Regions from separate parts of the Homo sapiens genome. Here region 1 is linked to region 2. The links are contacts of gene promoters, found by promoter capture Hi-C in human tissues and cell types (Jung and others, 2019). All regions are on one chromosome and are shown on one strand. The core of a region is centred on a gene start or on the middle of the fragment in contact, and the rest is flanking DNA. Distances in the headings are between cores, read along the strand shown.

Evidence for each region. Contacts are between HindIII fragments. The study calls those that stand out against the background at their distance.
Region 1: a fragment that was not itself captured here is called in contact with the fragment with the promoter of MYRF in region 2 in 1 of the 25 tissues and cell types used here (spleen).

What each region holds. Positions count from the first base shown.
Region 1 is chr11:61,930,553-61,933,252 of GRCh38, forward strand. It overlaps a transcript of RAB3IL1 not described here. Among named protein-coding and RNA genes, the nearest start is that of RAB3IL1, 14 kb to the left of the region's middle. The HindIII fragment of the contact is 6,912 bases long and covers 1-2,700 here.
Region 2 is chr11:61,751,213-61,753,912 of GRCh38, forward strand. MYRF (myelin regulatory factor) reads left to right here and starts at 1,424. Exons shown (of 27, transcript NM_001127392.3): 1 at 1,424-1,578. The coding sequence starts at 1,533. RefSeq lists silencers at 1,214-1,353, 1,474-1,573. The HindIII fragment of the contact is 21,501 bases long and covers 1-2,700 here.

The DNA of each region.
Region 1 (2,700 bases), core at 37-2,536, 180 kb after region 2:
AGGATCACTTGAGCTCAGGAGTTCAAGACCAGCCTGGGCAACATGGGGAGACCCCATCTCTACAAAAAATCAAAAATTAGCCAGGCGTGGTGGTGCAGGCCTGTAGTCCCAGCTACTTGGGAGGCTGAGGCAGGAGGATCACTTTAGCCTGGGAAGTCAAGGCTGCAGTGAGCTGTGATCATGCCACTGCACTCAGTCTGGGCAACACAGCAAGACCCTGTCTTAAAAAGACCAAATTAATAACAAACTTTAAGACGAAAAACATTATTAGTGTAGAGGTGGTCACTATGCAGTAATAATAAAGTGATGACAATGTTTAAAAAAAATTCACCAGATAGATATAACCATCTAAATTAATATGTGCCTAATAAAATAGCCTAAAATATTTAAAGCAAAAATAATTAAAGCTACAGGGGAAAATAGACACATCTATCATTATGGTGTGAGATGTCAACAAATGTCTCTGAACTACGGCTACATCAAGGCAGCAAAACATCAGGAGCTGGTGGCAGCAGAGACCACTGGCCTTGGTAGTAACTGAAGTATAGAGCACTAGATCAAAGCGAACCGATAAGCAATTTGATCCCTAGGTCCCCTCCTCTACTCCATGCCACTGGCCAACTGCCCCTTTCTTAGTCTAGCATAACACTGGAGATTTATTCTCTGGAGAAGGCAAAACAGAAGGTCTTTGGGCCAGTAGCTGAATAAGAGGGTTAAGTGATTATATACACACTGAAATCCAAGACCTCCAACCCTCTTCTGTCACTTGTCAGCCAAAGTGGCAACTCACTCAGTCACCAGGAGGGTAAAGACAGACTTTTACCCTCCAGACAGCCCCTCTATGGGACTCTGGCCAACCCAAGAAGAGAGATCTAAGACGAATGTTACCCAACAAAATATCCATCCAGCTCAAAGTCAACATGCTTGCCATCAGTTTTTAAGATCTCGCTCTTAATAATGAGCAATCAAGGATTATTAGACAACTAAGGAGAACCTCTACCTTAAGAGAGACCAAACCCAGTAAGCAGAAGAAAAGCAACTTGCAGGAAACAGAGACTCTGTAGAAAAAAGAAGAGGAGGTGAAGAGGAGGAGGAGGAGAAGGAAGGCAAGGAGGAGGAAGAAGGAGAGGCATTAATAACCTCAGGATGAGAAAAGAAGGTATTGCATTCATGAAATAATAACCTGATTCTATGAAAGTAAACATTCACAGAACAACAAAAACTATTGGAAAATAATATATTTTTTAAAAGCATGATGGTAGAAATGAAAACAATGAGTAAGGTTGGAAGACACAGTTGAGGGAATATCCTTCAGAAAGAAAGAAATGGAAAATAGTGAAAAGATTAGAAAAGTAGAGAATCAATTTAGAAGATTCAATATCTGAATAAAGAAGCAACAGAAGAAAATGAATGAACTGGCCAGGCATGGTGGTTCACACCTGTAATCCAAGCACTTTGGGAGGCTGAGGCAGGCAGATCACAAGGTCAGGAGTTTGAGACCATCCTGGCTAACATGGTGAAACCCCGTCTCTACTAAAAATACAAAAAATTAGCTGGGCGTGGTGGCGGGCGCCTGTAGTCCCAGCTACTCGGGAGGCTGAGGCAGGAGAATGGCGTGAACCCGGGAGGTGGAGCTTGCAGTGAGCCGAGATCTCACCACTGCACTCCAGCCTGGGAGACAGAGCGAGACTCTGTCTCAAAAAAAAAAAGAAAAGAAAATGAAGGGGGTAAAGCATCAAATAAATAATTCAAGATTATTTCCCAAAACTGAAGTATATGAGTTTTCAAATTGAAAAAGACCACCTTAGCTGGACATGGTGGCTCACATCTGTAATCCCAGCACTTTGGGATTCTGGTTTATAAAAAAATTAGTGTTATACTGTAAGATTTTTTATTTGCTTATATCAGTCTTCAAAAATATCCATTTTAATAGTTCATTCATTCAGCAGTTATTTGTTTGGTATTTCTTTGCCTGACAGTCACTCTTCCAGGCACAGGGTGTATAGCAATGAGCAAAACAAGGCCCTGCCCTATGAGGTTTACATTCTAAGCTTTATAGGGCTTACAATGTAATAAAAGACATTAAAAAGAAATAAAAGACATAAATAAAAGAGAAATCAAAGACATAAATAGAAAATAGTGATAAAGTCTTCTAGAACTTTTTTTTAACTCAACATTATATCCAAGACTTACCTTATTTTATGTAACTATAGTTCATTTTTTTTTTTTTTTTTTTTGAGACGGAGTCTCACTCTATCGCCCAGGCTGGAGTGCAGTGGCACAATCTCAGCTCACTGCAACCTCTGCCTCCAGGTTCACGCAATTCTCCTGCCTCAGCCTCCTGAGTATCTAGGATTACAGGCTTGCACTACCATGCCCAGCTAATTTTTGTATTTTTAGTTGAGACAGGATTTCACCATGTTGGCCAGGCTGGTCTCAAACTCCTGACCTTGTGATCTGCCTGCCTCAGCCTCCCAAAGTGCTTGGATTACAGGTGTGAACCACCATGCCTGGCCAGTTCATTCATTTTTATTGCTGTATAATATTCCATGATAGGACCATAACTGTGGTAGGATAAAAATGGCCTCTCAAAGATATTGAATCCTAATCTTTGAAAACTGTAAATGTTACCTTATATGAAAACAGAGTCTGTAAAGATGTAATTAAGTTAAGGACCGTGAGATGGGGAGATTATTCCAA
Region 2 (2,700 bases), core at 174-2,673:
TAGAGGCGGGGCCTGAGAAACCAGAGCAAGACATTCAGATATTGTTTTGAGTGCAAAGGGAAACTTAGTTTTGCAAAGGAATGACATGATCGGATGTATGTTTCAGAAAGGGTGATTTGGGAGAACTGAAGGGGATATCAGTGAGACGAGAGGCTGTGCAAGTTGGGCAGGACAGAGATGTGGAGGCAGTCAGTCATAAGGGTGAAGGCAGGGGCACAAGGACAACCGCTTTATCCTGGACTTATATCGAGTTAGAACCTCCAGGTTTCATTATACCAGACAGGGCCACGGCAAAGGAGAGTTCGGATTCCCGGGGCAGCCAGGATTTGGCTCTGAACTTTAATGACCTTGAAACTCTTAGGCAGGGCGGGGAGCGGTGGCTCATGCCTGTAATCCCAGCAGTTTGGGAGGCCAACGTGGGCTGATCACCTAAGGTCAGGAGTTCGAGACCAGCCTGGCCAACATGAGGAAACCCCGTCTCTACTAAAAATACAAGTTAGCCCAGCGTGGTGGCGCCTGTAATCCCAGTTACTGGGGAGGCTGAGGCAGGAGAATCGCTTGAACCGAGGAGGCAGATGTTGCAGTGAGCTGAGATCGCGCCATTGCACTCCAGCCTGGGCGACAGAGCCGAACTCCATCTCAAAAAAAAAAGGAGCTTTTAGACCTGCATTGTCCAATACCACAGCCACACGTAACTGTTTAATTACAATTAAACAAAATGAAAAAATCAGTTCCTCAGTCTCAATAGGCACATTTCCAGTGCTCACTTGTGGCCAGTGACTACCATACTGAACAACACAGGGAACATTTCCATCATCACAGCCACAGGACAGGGCTTCCTGGCAGTCCTTAATGCATTGAGCCTCAGTTTCCCCATCTGTAAAATGCAGGTAACAACAGCATCTCCTTGATAAGGTGCCTGTGAGGAGTACATGAGATAATGCCTGTGTGGCCTGGCACATAACACACGTTCCCTAAATGCAGGTTGTTATTGTTGCTGAGCGGGGTGTGTGGGTGGCTAACGAGAGGGATGGGGGCTGTCTCTGAGGTTTGGATTCGGAATCGTGACATCTTGTCCCGTGCAAGACGAAGGCGAGGACGGCGAGGGCACACCCTTCCAGTCCCGACCCCACAGAGGCCAAGCGGCCCTTCGCCCCCACCCCGACCCGGGAAGGCCCCGCGCCCCTCAAGCCTGGGACGGTCTCGCGTCCCCCGACCCGGGACGGCCCCGCGCCCCGCAAGCCTAGGACTGCCCAGCGCTGAGCGCCGCCTGCAGGAGTCGGGAGCGTGGTGCCCGCGGCCGGGCTGGGCGCGGCGCGGGCCGGCAGGGGGCGCTGGGCGCGGCGGGCGGGGCGCGTGGGGCGGGCAGGGGCCGGGCCAGGGACGCGCGGGGGGCAAGCGCGGCGGCGGACCGGGCGGGACCGTAGCCGGAGCCCAGCCGGGACTGTCGCGCGGGCCGCGCCGGCGATGCCGCGCCCCCGGGCCGGGCTGTAGCGGGGCCGCGGCTGGAGTGTGCGCCGGGCAGGCGGGACATGGAGGTGGTGGACGAGACGGAGGCGCTGCAGCGCTTCTTCGAAGGTGAGAGACCGCGGGCTGGCGGCGGCGACCCTCTGGCGCTGGGAACCCCCGGCTGATCTCCCCGGGAACTGGGGCTCCTCGCTGTGTTTCCGCCTCCTCTGGCTGGGACCCTCCTTCAGGCTGGCACCAGCCCGCCAAGACAGGCTCCCGGGGCTGGGAGTCCCCCAGCGGTTACCACCCACCGCCGCTGAAGTTGGGCTCCCCCTCCCCGCTCCTCAACTCGCAGCTTCCTTGGGACTGTGTCCCCTTCCAGGTCCGGACTCCTTTGAGCCTTCCAGGACCCGGAACTTTCCCTAAATTGTGACACTCTCGCCCCCAGCAAACTTCCCGAGTCTGGGGACCCTCTACTTTGCTTCCCCAGAACCCCAAGCGGGATACAACCCCATTCAAGGCCCAGACCCCCGGTGTGCCTTCTAGGACCTTCCGTACCTCTTGAGGCTGGACCCCAGCCTGCTTCCCAGAATCTGTGACCCCCGCCTAGAGACCAAGACCCCCTGTGTGCCCTTCTGGTTGGCGCCATCCCCCATGACTTCTAGGAGCTGGGACCTCCCCACTGTGCTTCCATGAGGGTAGGACCACTTTCGAGCCTGGATCCCCTTGGAGACTGCCACCTGCTTTCCACAATGCTGCCTAGTGACTGCTCTCCTGTTTGGGGCTGGGACCCCCCTCCCTAGCATGCTCTCCTGGGGCTGGAACCTTCTTGAAGCTGACATCCCTGCCACCGGTCACCTCTGCTCTCTGAGACCCTTCTAGTGCTGTGAACTGCATCCCACCAGCCCTCTGAGGCTCCTCAGCACTATGTCCCCCCAACCCTGGAGCTGTGCCTCTCTGACCTCGCCCCCTCAAAGAGTGACCTCACCCCCACTTGACCGAAAGGAGCCCTCTGGGGTGGAATTGACATACACCCCATAATATCTTCTTCTGCCCCCACCCCTACATTGGTTTTGGAGGTCTGCTCCTCCATCTAACCAACTCCCTGTCTTTTCCTGGACGACCCCTGCCCCTCCTGCAGGGCCACCACTCCTCCTGGTGCTGGGTTCTGGAGGGATGGGACCGCAGTGGGAGGGGGAGGGGAAGTTCTGGCTGACTGCCTCCCAGCCCACTCCGCTTCTCAGAACCTCC